Linked DNA regions of Homo sapiens: region 1 is linked to region 2. The links are contacts of gene promoters, found by promoter capture Hi-C in human tissues and cell types (Jung and others, 2019). All regions are on one chromosome and are shown on one strand. Each heading gives the region's core, a stretch centred on a gene start or on the middle of the fragment in contact. The rest is flanking DNA. Distances are from core to core; before and after follow the strand shown.

Region 1 (7,459 bases), core at 4,874-7,373, 330 kb before region 2:
CTCTATGCCCAGCCCCTTCCTTCAGAGCCTATGGCCCCAGCTGTCTACTTACCTTTCTGGAGTCCCGTCTCTGTGGTTAAAAGGTAGGTGCCCCAAGTGTCTGCTGATGATAAGGGAAGTGAAGAAAAGAGGATGGTTTTGACCTCCTCCACCCCAGCACTCCTTCCCTTGGGTCTACCCCATGACGTTCTGCAGCTTTACAAGGTCCCACCTCACCCTGCGGGTCCCAGGAGCTTCATCCAGCAGGTAAAGTGGAAGGGTCCACAGATGGACGAACCTGACGAGGAATTCCATTCTAGCACTTGTGAGCATGTGTCTTTGCACCAGTCATGTCTTCTATTTTTTTTTTTTTTGAGATAGAGTCTCACTGTGTTCCAGCCTCTGGAGTAGCTGGGACTACAGGCACACACCACATACCCAGGTAATTTTTTTCATATTTTTAGTAGAAACGGGGTTTTGCCATGTTGGCCAGGCTGGTCTTGAACTCCCAACCTCAGATGACCTGCCTGCTTCGGCCTCCCAAAGGGCTGGGATGGCAGGCCTCTGAGGCTGGAGTACAGTGGTGTGATCTCAGCTCACTGCAACCTCCGCCTCCCGAGTTCAAGCAATCCTCTTGCTTCAGCCCCGAGTAGCTGTAATTACTGGCGTGCGCCACCACACCCAACTCATGTTTGTATTTTTAGTAGAGATGGGGTTTCACTGTGTTGGCCAGGCTGGTCTTGAACTCCTGACCTCAAGTGATCCAGCCGCCCCTGCCTTCCAAAGTGCTGGGATTACATGCAGGAGCCACCCGGCCCAGCCCGTCTTCTATTTAAGCCTCATTTTCCTCATTAAGTCATCATTACCTCTTTCTCCTCACACATAGTGAAATTCAAAGTCTCACTATTTTTTTTTCTTTTTCTTTTTCTTTTTCTTTTTTTTTGAGACGGAGTCTCACTCTGTCGCCCAGGCTGGAGTGCAGTGGCGCGATCTCAGCTCACTGCAAGCTCCGTCTCCCGGGTTCACGCCATTCTCCTGCCTCAGCCTCTTGCGTAGCTGGGACTACAGGCGCCCGCCACCACGCCCGGATAATTTTTGTATTTTTTTTTAGTAGAGACAGGGTTTCACCGTGTTAGCCAGGATGGTCTTGATCTCCTGACCTCATGATCCACCTGCCTCGGTTTCCCAAAGTGCTGGGATTACAGGCGTGAGCCACCGCGCCGGGCCTCACTCCTGTAATCCTAGCCGTGCGCCCCAGGCCCATCCCACCGTCATCTTCCAAACATCATTTTCAACCCTCCTGGCCTCATAGTTATTATTGTATTACCCCAGTTATCTTCCTGCCCCAGGGCACAGGCAGATGCCATTTCATTCTCTCCAGAGCCTCCTTTCTCCTGACAGCCACATGATTAACTCAAGTCTGAACGCATTTGCTCAGATGCCTTCTTTCTCTGTGAGGTCCATCTGGACAAACCTATTTAATATTGCTAGCTGCCATTTCAATCACTGTAAGTCTGTTCTACTTTGTCTTTTCCTTCCATAGCATCATTCCCTCCTGTGTGCTATCCTGACGTTGACCGATGGTGTGTCTCCTCCTGCTAGAATCTAAGTGCTGCACAGTCAAGATATCTGCCTGGCTGACTGTTACAGTGTAGTTCACTGTGTATACTATGCACTTGATGAATATATATATATAATAGTTTTGTTTTTGTTTTTCTGTGAGATGGAGTCTCGCTGTGTCGTGCAGTGGAGTGGAATGCAGTGGCGCGATCTCAGCTCACTGCAACCTCTGCATCCCAGGTTCAACAATTCTCCTGCCTCAGCCTCCTGAGTAGCTGGGATTACAGGCGAGCACCACCAGGCCCGGCTAATTTTTGTATTTTTAGTAGAGATGGGGTTTCACCATGTTGGTCAGGCTGGTCTCGAATTCCTGACCTTGTGATCCAACCACCTTGGCCTCCCGAAGTGTTGGGATTACAGGTGTGAGCCATGATGCCCAGCCTAAGTTTTGTATTTTTAGTAGAGACAGGGTTTCGCCATGTTGGCCAGGCTGGTCTCAAACTCCTGACCTCAAATGATGCACCATCTCGGCCTCCCAAAGTGCTGGGATTACAGGCGTGAGCCACCACGCCTGGCCTCGATGAATATTTTGAATGAATGCCACGTTTTTAGTGTCACTGGGAGGCTCTGATCGCTCGTCTGAGCTTAGAAGGACCAGTTACTCACCAGGAAAGGTGGGGTCTTCAGGTGCAAGGCTGGTGTTCTCAATGTCGCCTGGAAAAGGAGATAAAGAAAAAAAAGTAAGGGTTTTTGGTTTCCTCCGGTCTTGCCATTCTTTTTTTTTTTTTTTTTTTTTTGAGATGGAGTCTTGCTCTGTCGCCCAGGTTGCAGTGCGGTGGTATGATCTCGGTTCACTACAACCCCCGCCTCCCGGGTTCAAGCGATTCTCCTGCCTCAGCCTCCTGAGTAGCTGGGACTACAGGTGTCCGCCACTGCGTCTGGCTAATTTCTGTATTTTTAGTAGAGACGGGGTTTCACCGTCTTGGCCAGGCTGGTCTCGAACTCCTGACCTTGTGATCCACCCGCCTTACCATTCCTTTCTCTGTTCCCTCCTCCTTCCTGCTTCTGGTGTTCTTCCTCACATGACCAACCAGGCACCCAGGAAGTGGACGTCCCTTGGACACCCTCCCCATCACTCTCTGGGGATCCCTCAGGGCTCCAGGTAGCACATGGCGGCGAAGGGTGTGGGGAATTGAGCATTTCCTCACCTGTGACCAGGAGCTTCACTGGCTCACTGGGGAAAGACCAGGCATGGTTGTTATAGGAGCCAAAACATCGGTATGTCCCTCTGTGGGCTGTGGTCACAGGGCCCAGGGGGAACTCCGCCTGGACCTTCCCGTATCCGCGCTGTACGTGGCTGGATCTTCCCTCCTTGAGCAGTAAGAACATGCTTGTTGCAGTGTCTAGACGGCAGTAGAAGGTCACCTTCTCTCCCGAGATCACTTCGGGTCCAGGATGAACCGAGAGGGTGGGTGTGTCATACATTTCTATGAGAGAAGGTGGGGCCACCACACCAGAAACTCAGTGATGAGCAGCCAGCTATTTTTTTTTTTCTTTCTTTAGAGATGGAGTCTCTCTCTGTCGCCCAGGCTGGAGTGCAGTGACACGATCTTGGCTCACTGCAACCTCCGCCTCCCGGGTTCAAGCGTTTCTCCTGCCTCACCCTCCCAAGTAGCTGGGACTACAGGGGCCTGCCACCATGCCTGGCAGCCAGCTTTTTTTTTTTTTTTTAATTATTATTTTGGTCAAATACACACAATAGAAGATTTACCGTCTAAAACCATTTTTAAAAATGATACAGGGTCTTGCTCTGTTTCCCAGGCTGGAGCGCCGTGGCACTATCTTTGCTTACTGAAGCCTCGACCTCCTGGGTCAGGAGTTTGAGACCAGCCTGGTCAACATGGTGAAACCCCGTCTCTACTAAAAATGCAAAAATTAGCCGGGTGTGGTGGCACATGCCTGTAATCTCAACTACTTGGGAGGCTGAGGCAGGAGAATTGAGGCTGAGGCAGAGGTTGCAGTGAGCTGAGATTGTACCACTGCACTGCAGCGAGACTGTCTCAAAAAAAAAAAAAAAAGCCCCGGCCAGCCGCCCCGTCCGGGAGGTTGGGGGGCAGCCCCCGCCCGGCCACTGCCCCGTCTGGGAGGTGGGGGGGCGCCTCTGCCCGGCCGCCCCGTCTGGGAAGTGAGGAGCCCCTCTGCCCGGCCGCCACCCCGTCTGGGAGGTGTACCCAACAGCTCATTGAGAACGGGCCATGATGACGATGGCGGTTTTGTCGAATAGAAAAAGGGGAAATGTGGGGAAAAGAAAGAGAGATCAGATTGTTACTGTGTCTGTGTAGAAAGAAGTAGACATAGGAGACTCCATTTTGTTCTGTACTAAGACAAATTCTTCTGCTTTGGGATGCTGTTAATCTATGACCTTACCCCCAACCCCGTGCTCTCTGAAACATGTGCTGTGTCCACTCAGGGTTAAATGGATTAAGGGCGGTGCAAGATGTGCTTTGTTAAACAGATGCTTGAAGGCAGCATGCTCCTTAAGAGTCATCACCACTCCCTAATCTCAAGTACCCAGGGACACAAACACTGCGGAAGGCCGCAGGGACCTCTGCCTAGGAAAGCCAGAGACCTTTGTTCACATGTTTATCTGCTGACCTTCTCTCCACTATTGTCCTATGACCCTGCCAAATCCCCCTCTCCGAGAAACACCCAAGAATGATCAATAAATACTAAAAAAATTAAAAAAAAAAGAATAAATGAGTAGCTGTGTTCCCCTGCCAGAACCTCCAAACAAGGTCCAAAGACCCTGAGCAAATGAAAAGGCACAGACAAAAAATATATATATTTCAACACAAGTATATGACACAGAATATAGAAATAACTTTTCCTAATCAATCAAAATATAAGCAACCCAATTTAAAAATAGGCAAAAGATTTAAATAGACATTTCACAAAAGAAGATATTTGAATGGACATGAAATACTGTTGTGAGCTGCATAATGACATTTTGGCCAACAATGTACCACATATATGATGGTGGTCCCATAAGATTATAATGAAACTGAAAAATTCCTATTGCCTGATGACATCATAGCCTTCCTAGCACAAAGTATTGCTCATGTGTTTTTGGTGTTGCTGGTATAAACAAACCTAATTGTATAGCACATACAATTATGTATGTATATGTAACTATGTATAATACTTGATAATAATAATAAACAACCATATTGTTAAAAAAAAAAAAAAGCTAATTTTTTTTTTTTTTTAGAAAACCACCACCTGGCTGGGTGTGATGGCTCACACCTGTAATCCCAGCACTTTGGGAGGGTGAGGCGGGCGGATCATCTGAGGTCAGGAGTTCGACACCACCCTGGCCAACATGGTGAAACCCCATCTCTACTAAAAATACAAAATGTGGCGTAGTGGTGGGTGCCTGTGATCCCAGCTACTTGGGAAGCTGAGGCTGGAGAATCACTTGAACCCAGGAGGTGGAGGTTGCAGTGACTGGAGATTGCACCACTGCACTCCAGCCTGGGTGACAAGAGCGAAACTCCGTCTCAAAACAGATAAAAAAAAAAAAAACCCACCACCTGTGATGGGTGAGGGAAGCAAAGTGTAAGCCACTGCGCCTGGCCCACAGGCATTGTTTTTGAGGACATTCCTCAGTCATACCCCTGCATACAAATATCTATCTCAGAATCTGTGTCATGGAGAAACTGACTGAGGACACATCTGCTCCTAGGACGTAGAGACACGGTCTGCAGACAACCCCTTGTAGGCAAGGATTGTGATGGGGATCACCCCTCCTTCCAGCCTCCTACCGAGACAAGCAGTGTCTGAGTGGGGCTTGGAAGAGTTCATAGATGATGCTGCATCCCGGATGCAGACTGAGATCACTCTCCAGTTAGAGAACCGGACAGTTACCTGTTACCACCAGATCCAGCAAGTTGCTGGGCTCTGACCAGAGCTCCCCAACCCGATAGATGCAGCTGTATTGCCCTGCCATGCGGGAGTTCATGTCCGGGATGTAGAATTGGACTTTGTTAATCCGCTCAGGGGGTTTTGGTCTGTCCACGGCAAAAAGGCTTCCTTCAAAGTGCAGCTGGTATTCAACAGCCCCATAATTTCCCTGGCAACAGATGGTCACTTGCTTTTCCTTTGGAACCATGAAATGGGGCTCGGCCCAGATGAACGGTTTTGGGAGAGTCTCTGGAAGGGAATCAGAGGCTGGAGTTCCAGCGGAGCCCCCTCCCCCCAACCTTAGGCTCCACCCAGCTGCTGGCCCCAAGCTCTCCTGGGAAGCCAGCACCCTGTCCCCTCACCCCAGCCGTGCTTGGGTGGAAGGAGCTTGGCCTGAATCCGGAAGAGTGACCCTGGGCTTTGAAGGAAGGACTCACGCTGCTGGGCGCTGATCCTCTGACTCAGACACAGCCCTGGAAGACGGGAGTAATGAGACCTGTTGCCTCCCAGGCACACCGTGATCCCATTCCCCTTCCACGCCAGAACTCACCGACGCAGAGCAGGGCAGGGAGTGTGGAAGACATCGCTCAGATTCTGCCGGCCTAGTGCTGAGCAGTGGGGACTGAGCCGGGCGGGCCAGGGAGATAGATACACAGGAAGTGGTGGGTGAGCACCAGCGCCCATCACCAGAGCGCTTTCACGTTGACTGCTTTCATCAGAACGTTCACAACTCCCCTCCGCCTCTGACCATGAGCTTACAGAAAGGCCGTGGTCCCTCTGACACATCTGTGGTCTAGCCAGCAACTCTGACAATTGTCTGCTCAGCCCAAAATGCATTTCTGGGTCAACTTCTCAATTCTGCAATGTGGAGGTCGTACCCAGAGCTGACTGTGGGAAGTTGTGCCCAATCATGCCCAGAGGAAACCCCCTGAGAATCGTATAAAAACATAGGGAGTTTCACAGTGAGATACTGGAACAGGAATTAAAAGAAATTACAGAATGTGTAAACAAAAACTCAGTTGTATTTAAGAAAACCCAGTTCCCCCCGAGGAAGAGAAAGAGGTGGAGTCCTTTAAACATGAACTGCCTGTTTTTCTGTCTGTGGCTAGTGAGCCTTATCTCTCCCTTTCCCAGGCATTGTGAAGACCCTGTTTCTCTTGCCGTGCGGCTGCAAGGTCACTAGACAGGATAACCTCAAGTCGTAAAACATATTTTTCTTGAAAAGTAAGGAATAATGTGATGCATGTCTCAATTGAATAACTGCCTTTGTTTCTTGCTTCTGTAATATGCTTCCCCCTGCACAGATCTCCCCCAACCCCACAAAATGCTTAAAAGGTAACCGGACTCTCTGTTCGAGCCTCAGTCTTTTTGGATGTTAATCTGACTGGGGCCGGTGCACCTAAATAATAATAATAATAATAAATCCTCCTCAACCCCTCGGTCTCTCTGATTCCTAAATTATCCCTCAACAATACCATCTCACACCAGTCAGAATGGCCATTACTGAAAAGCCAGAAATTAACAGATGCTGGTGAGATTGTGGAGCAAAGGGGACACTTATACACTGTTGGTGGGTGTAAATTAGTTCAGCCACTGTGGAAAGCAGTTTGGTTTGGAGATATTTCAGAGAACTACAAACAGAGTTACCATTCAGCCCAGCAATCCCATCGCTGGGTATATAGCCAAAGGAAAATAAATCATTCTACCAAAAAGACACATGCACTTGTATGTTCATTGCAGCAGGATTCACAATAGTGAAGACATGGAATCCACCCAGGTCCCATCAGAGGTGGACTGGATAAAGACAATGTGATATGTATACACCACAGAACGCTATACAGCCTTGAAAAATCACAAGATTATGTCCTTTGCAGCAACATGGATGCAGCTAGAGGCCATTATCCTAAGCGAGTTAACACAGAAACAGAAAACCAAATACTGGCCAGACACGGTGGCTCAG
Region 2 (7,325 bases), core at 9-2,508:
TGTGAATTTCTCACCTGGGACCAGGAGCTCCAGGAGATCACTGGGTAGAGACCACACATAGGGAGAGTTCGAGTCATAAGCATAGCACCTGTACGACCACCTGCGACTCGGGCTCACGGGGCCCACGGAGAAGATGGCCCAGGACCACCCACGGGCATGGGAATGGGAGTTCAGGCGTTGTGGGTGTTCATCTTCTCCTTCCTTACACAGAATGAAGCCGTCAAATGCCACCTGTGAGACACACTGGAGGGTCACGTTCCCTCCTGAGGTCACCACAGGGCTGGGCAGAGCTGAGAGGGTGGGTTTGCTGTAGGCTCCTAGGAGAGAAGGAGGCACTGTGTTAAATGGGGCTCCCACCTCCCACATCATCCCCAGGGTTGAGCTGTGAGAGCGGAGATGCCCCTGAGAGCCGACCCCCTTCCTGAGGGCAGAGCCTGGGGCTGGGACTCCTGAGTGTCCTCTCACCTGTCACCACCAGCTCCAGGGGGTCACTGTACTCTGATGAGTGATTGTGGCTGTAGTACTGACAGTGATACCGCCCTGCGTGTTCCCAGGTGATGGATGGGATGGGGAACTGGCCATTCTTCCCAGGCTCTTGTATCCGTCTAACCCAGGATGCTGATTTGTTTTCCCTATATAGATGGTACTCCTCAGCCTGAAGGCTCCCCTGACACCTGAGGGTCACAGGACTTCCCTGGATGATCACAGAGCCTGGCTCAGCCCAGAGGGTGGGCTTGGGGAGGTGCCCTGGAAGGAAATCAGAGGTCGGATTCTAAGTCATTTCCCACCCAACAGATCTCAGCTCTCAGCTGCAGGACCCTCCAGACACCCCCATCAGTCAGCCCAGAACTGCTATTCCCCATCCCCAGCTGCACGGGGGTGGCCCCTTGTCCCTAGTGAGGAGGAGGGACCTGGGACAGCTGGGAACAGACTCACCTGCCTGCACGTGGGTCCTGGGGCCCAGACTCAGCCCTGGAAGAGAGTTCCCTGTGAGGGATTTTTCCCCTGAAGCCTGGGCAGGTCCTCCCCTCCCTGGGATCTTTGTGAGCCCCTGGGGTCTCCTTAGGGACCAGAGTTTGGCTGTGGGGTGAGGTCCCTCCTAGGTTAGAAGCTCCCCTCCCTCTTCAAATCTCACCGAGACAGATCAGGACCGTGAGGATGGGGGTCATGGCGTCTCCTCCCACTGCCCTGCTCTGCGGATGGATGAGCCCTCAGTGCTGGCAGGACAGAGAGACGCACAGGGTGTGGACACTCGGAGGCTGGATCCTTCTTGTCATGGGGTTTTGTTATGTGCAACCACACAGGAAGTGCAACTGCCCTCTCAGGAGCCTGGCTGTCATACCTTTAGGGCTGAGGTGGGGGCAGGCACCAGGCCCTCTGCAGACATTTCAGACTGTAATGGGGTCTTTCCTGCCCCCCAGCCACTGTCTGTCTGGTTTATCCTCATCTCCTTGAGACCTGGGATGTAGCAGCAAATAGAACTGGTGCCCTCCTGCGTCTGCCCTTCCAGATGAGGGTGAGCAGAGGCTTCCTCTTCCTTCTCAGAGCTTCCCCATGGGGTCTCCCTCCCTCCTTCAGCCCGTCCATCAGCTCAGCGTTGCGGGGTCCTTACCATGGCGGTCGTCCCTCCAGCCCTGGAGATGCTTCAGGGAAAACCCAGGTCCATGCTGCAGTTAGACTCAGATCAGCAGAGACGCACCTGACACCTGGCTGTGTAGCTCAGGTTGAGCTGCGTGTGGCAGTGAGCACAGAGGAGTAATGCAGGGTCTACCATGGTGGCTCATGCCTGGAATCCCAGCACTTCAGGAGGCTGAGGTGGGTGAAGGCTAGAGGCCAGGAGCTTCAGATTACCCTGGGCCACATAGCAAGACCTTGTCTGTATAAAAAAAGCAAAAAATTAGCCAGGCATGGCAGCTCACATCTCTAGTCCCAGCTACTCAGGAGGCTGAGGTGGGAGGAATACTTCGGCCTGGGAGGCGGAGGCTGCAGGGAGCTATGATCACCCCTTAGCATTCCAGCCTCAGTGACAGAGTGAGACCCTGTCTCAAAAGGGGAAATGCAGGGATTAACTATAATAAAACATATTTGTTCTGTCTTGAGAGTGTGTGTTTCCTTCCTACCAAACCGTCCCTCTCCTGTACTTCCCCTTTTCTCTTTGTTGCAACATCACCCACCCCCACCCCGGGAATGAGGCTCTGAGTCGGTCCCGCCCCCTCAGTGTCCCTTGCGTCCTTGGCCTTCCCTCGGCACCTCCGTCCATGTTCAGAGTTTTCAGAAGAATTTGTTAGGTCTGTAATCTGATTCTGGGGAAGGTGAGCTGATTTGTATTTAATTCCTGATTATCATCCAGGGTTTATGTGACTTTGGACATGAATGTCACCTCTGAGCCTGCTGTCGTGAACCCCACTCATCACAGTGGCTGTGGGGGTCAGTGGTGCCCAGGACATGGGAGGCTCAGCCATGGTGAATTTCCAGACCAGTTCAGACAGGAGGGTGGGGACGGGAGAGGATCCTGGTGCTGGGCTCCACAGTCCAGGAGGATGATTGACGCCCCCACTCAAGAGCCCACATCGGCTCCAAATACCATGAAATTCTCCTTGTGATACATCTGAAATATGCAGATCATCACAGCCACGGGCACAGAAAGAGGAAGAACAGTTCCTCACATTGAGACGCATCCCCTTCCATGAGCAGAGTTCAATGCTGAGTGGCCACAGGTGTCTGGGACCACCCAGGGTCATTAGGGAGGAGGAGGCTCCCACCTCCGTGTGGGACAGAAGAGGAACCCCACGTCCTCCCAGGCAGGGAGGGGTCAGGGCTCTGGGTGACGCTGGAAGCTGTGGCTCCCCCTCCCCTGTGTGTGTGGACAGGCGCTGGGGGGTCTCTGCTCACTCACTGGAGGCCATGGTCAGTGCTCAGCCCCTCCCCTGTGTGTGAGAAACAGATTCAATCCACGGTGGTCTGACATGGGCGTCTGCTCTGCCCCACAGGTGAGTGTGAGACTGGCGTTGGTCCCATCCCTGCTGGGCACAATCTTGAGCTGACACTGAGTTTGGGGGAGTGGGGAGGAGCAGCGGCAACAATCCCCTTCATCAGGCTGATGCCTGGACAGCCGTGGGAGAAACCCTTTATGAAAGGTCAGGTGCGTGGGAGGAGCCGCCCCACAGGAATGACAACCAAGATACATGAGGAAAACACAGACAGTTGTTGAAATGCATTAGACAGACATTGTGAAGGTGAATTAATTTTTATATTAATTTATATATTATATAAAAGAGTCCCAAGCCCTTCTCAGCCTTTTCCCCTGCTATCATTGCTACCGAAACTTTGGGGCTTCTGTCTCCACCCTCAGGTGCCCCCCTCTTCCTGTCACAGAAGTTTTCTTCCTGGACATCAGCAGCTGGGCTGGACCCGGGGAAGGACATGGGAGTGTGAGGGCCAGTGAGGAGGTTGTGGGGGTAGGTGGGCGTCTGGGGTCTTCGGGCAGAATTACCTCCTCCACAGGCCTCTGTCGTTCTCTGACTCCACAGTCCCCACAGGACTTTGGAAATCAGCCTCCCTCTGGGCTGGGTGAAGAGGGACAGAGCTTCAGCCTTGGGATCATGAGAGCCACCTGCCCTGCACAGAGAACTCAAGAGAAAAGAAGGAAAGCTGAAAACACACTTGCATAGATGTTTTAAAAACGTCGTTAGATGAAACAACCAAAAGAATAAGGTATGTTCATGTATGTTCACATTTATTCTCTTCTTTCTAGGTTTTCTCACTGGGAAATGCTGGAGCCGTTTTTCTGAGCTGAACTTTCCCATCTGGAATCTGTCTGGTTGGTGGTGCCCTGACCCCACCTTCAGTCAGCCCATGGGTCTCCCCGCCAACTTCCTACTCACCCAATGTCCTGTGTTGGCCCTGAGGCCAGTGTCAGAGGAGAAAGAAGAGGAGGAAGAGCACCAGCTGAAGGCCACTGAGACCCCGATCACAACCCCCAGGTGCTTTCCCAGACCCTGAGGTAGGACTGTGAAGGTGTACTGATGCCCTTGCCAAATGAAAGGAAACTGTTCCTGATGGTTCTTATTAACAGTGATGGAGAAAAAAATATTTAACACATCAATGGCTGAATACTGGGTATCAGGGGATGTATTAATTTGCTCAAACTACAAAACCACATCTGTTACAACATCTTCAATTGGATCTGATTAAGCTTACAATAATCTAATATCATTATCCAAGATCCCTGCGTCTTCTGTGGAGGTAAAATAGGAGAGGTGAATGGCAAGGTTGTGGGAATCACTGTCTCTGCACGCTTCAAGTCCCAATATATGGAATTCCTCCAGGAATGCAAGACTGCTTTTGGTTTACAGTTTAGCTGGGAAGAGGCAGTTCTAGTGGCTCCCACTGGGCCCACTCTAATAACCCTCACTCAACAAGTGAGGGAACCACTGTGGGGGTTGTGATAGTTGTTGAATATGTCTATTCCAATGTTGCCCTCTGGAACTGGGGATACAGCCACAGGGTGGGTTTAGGGATACACTGGATTCACTATGGAACACGTGAGCTCAAACTCCACCAATCACCTTGCCTCTAGCAGCCACTACTCTGACTGGAGGGCCACAGTGACGTTTCGGGTCTCCTGGAATTAATGTCAGTTCATACCCCATTTCCAGTAATGCCCAAATTATCTGATTATTTTCCCCAAGGCTCCATTGCCATTGTAAAAGGCTGCAGGTCCCTTTAACCAAAGTCCAGGAGAAAGATTAAGAGTATATATTCTTGGTAGTGTACCAGGGACAGTGCCCTCACGGGAACCCTGCCTGGGATCCCTTTAATTCAGGGGATTCTGGCTCTATGAACTGACTCAGTGCTAGCCATTGATTGAGAGACTGTGGCTCTCTGCTTTTATGATTTGGGTTGACTTTTGTTCACTTGACATAGAAATTTTCTGCTTATACAGATCAAGTGAGAATTTAGTAGGTTTCCTATCTATCTCCCTTGTTAGAATGCCGTGATCAACTAGCCAACACCATAAGTCTGCGGGACTATTCCGATCGCTGGTTTGACTTTGCTGTCCATCATGGTAACCAAACCCACCTTGCCTTTGGTGGCTGAGTTCCTCTACTTGGCCCCTGTCTCTCTGGGGGCCAAGAGGTAGGGGCCAAATTACTCCCATTACATTTAGATTTTTTAAAATTCAGCAGTTCCACTGTAGGTTCCAGCTTCCAGAGAAGAGAAATCACAGAGCTCCTCAAGGATGCCAGAGCTCCCTTTGCAATATTGTTGAAAGATACATCTTCTGATGCTTCCAATGTGGGTTACTAGGTTTGATACATGCATGGTAACATTACAGTCTTCCTAAGCCTTTAAGTTAATTCCTCTGCAGCAAACCAAGGCATGTCTGGCATTTTGAGTTTATTTACTGCAGGCCAGCTTTTGCTCCATGTTTCAGCCAATCAACCAGACAAACTGGTAGAATCATTTCCGGTTCTCCAAGATGCAACATTAAATGTGCAATCTCTGTTTAGTGAGCTTATATATATAAATTCGGTCCGACTCAACTTTATGTTCTTTTCACCATTATCCTAAACCCTTAATATCCACTCTGACACGTGTTCCTCAGACTTCTGTATGGATAAATTAGAAAAATAAATAAATTACTTTGGAGTGTAGCACAACTTCTCATGAGCCACACTTTGTAACACACTTTTCAGGGCCTGCGAGACTTGAATCTAGTTATAGGTCTAGAAGCAAAGAGGGTTGGTCAGGATGTATCCTAAGGAGAATCAGCATAGCCTTGCATGGCAACTGCCTCAGGGGAGGCCAGTATTGTTTCCTCAGACAGTACAGGGTTAATCTCCTCCCTTGCAGATAGAGAGGATGCTTCTATTGGCAAAGAAGACTCATTCAAAGTTAGGGGCTTGATATCCTCAGCTGTATCAGGGTCTTAATATACATCCTCATTCCATCTTTCAAGATCTCACCCATTCCTGACCAATGGCATTACTTGAACAGTAGATACCCTGTGAGGCTGGGGACTCCGCTTGAATTGTAATACAGCCACTTCAAGGATGAGATTCTCGGTTTGATTTTCAGCAATCTCACCCCTACAGCTACAGATGATAAGAGTCTCTTTCAGGGCACACATAGAAACCTCAGATATTTATGTAGTGGTGCTTGAACTGGAAATTCTAATCTCTGGGCTCATCTTTTTCTTTACCTCTTTATCCAATGACAAAACAGCCACACATACTATACTTAATAGTTTGACAACAATCTTCAAAGGTGTATGCAAGGCCACCCAGATTCTCGTTCCTTATAAGTGTAGGATTAGGAGCATCTAGTGGTGTACCCCTAATGCCACATCATGCCACGGACTATCACAGACTTCCTTCCTTCCTTCTTCCTTCCTTCCTTTCTTCCTTTCTCTTTCTTTCTCTTTCTGTTTCTGTCATACTGTCTTAATGTCTTTAAATCTAATCAGACAGCCAGTTCCATAAACCTCAGAAACAGTAGACAAAACATATTAAGATTCAGTTCATCTAGAATCATTCCTATGATCAAATTATGTATTTGTAAGTGTTCTCCAGAGAAACAGAACCGATATATGTACATATGTGCATATCTATATCTACTTATCTTGCTATCTAGGAATGGGTTCATGTAATTGTTGGCACTTGGTGAGTCCAAAATCTGCAGGACAAACAGCCTGAAGACTTGGGGAAGAGTTTCAGCTCCAGTCAGCCAAACAACCTGCTTGCAAAATTTTTTACTATTCTGTGGAGCACATTACTTCTTTTCCTTCTCACAATGCACTTATTATCTTTTAACACAATGCATACTCTATCTATTATTTATTGTGTGTAATGTCCACTTTTCTTGACTACAATATTGACTTAATACAGGCAGGCTCTTTGGAAGTTTTCATGTCCTTTATTCTGAGACATCTCATACACCATGTTTGACACAGATCAGATACTTCACATGTGCCTATGGAAACAGGGAATAAAAGTTTCTCCACTCCTGCCAAGTTCATTTCTATCACAGAGACAATTTGTTCCAACTTGATTCTTTTCTTCTCCCTTCCAGGCAGCCTTTTGTACAAAGTTCTCAGAATAGAAAAAGAATAACATTCAGGAGGCAAGACCCCAAGGTTGGGAAGAAACACATCCAGACTCATTGCCTCCTCCTTCATCTCAGTTCTTAGACATCAGGGTCCTCATCTGATATCTTATTTCCATGTGGTTTCTCCAAGAATTTCAGAGATGTTTCTTTCTTTCTTTCTTTCTTTCTTTCTTTCTTTCTTTCTTTCTTTCTTTCTTTCTTTCTCTTTTTCTTTC

What was found. Contacts are between HindIII fragments. The study calls those that stand out against the background at their distance.
Region 1: a contact is called between the fragment with the promoter of NCR1 here and the fragment with the promoter of LILRA2 in region 2, in 1 of the 25 tissues and cell types used here (adrenal gland).

Annotation. Positions count from the first base shown.
Region 1 is chr19:54,904,812-54,912,270 of GRCh38, reverse strand. It overlaps NCR1 (natural cytotoxicity triggering receptor 1), which reads right to left and starts at 6,123. Exons shown (of 7, transcript NM_004829.7): 1 at 6,050-6,123; 2 at 5,937-5,972; 3 at 5,464-5,748; 4 at 2,748-3,026; 5 at 2,206-2,253; 6 at 53-103. The coding sequence starts at 6,083. The HindIII fragment of the contact is 21,719 bases long and covers 1-7,459 here.
Region 2 is chr19:54,567,723-54,575,047 of GRCh38, reverse strand. It overlaps LILRA2 (leukocyte immunoglobulin like receptor A2), which reads right to left and starts at 1,258. Exons shown (of 8, transcript NM_001130917.3): 1 at 1,136-1,258; 2 at 937-972; 3 at 466-747; 4 at 15-317. The coding sequence starts at 1,169. It overlaps LOC107985347 (a long non-coding RNA gene), which reads left to right and starts at 2,220. Exons shown (of 2, transcript XR_002958419.2): 1 at 2,220-2,312; 2 at 3,755-5,657. It overlaps LOC105372461 (a long non-coding RNA gene), which reads right to left. Exons shown (of 3, transcript XR_936073.3): 3 at 3,336-3,630. The HindIII fragment of the contact is 16,909 bases long and covers 1-7,325 here.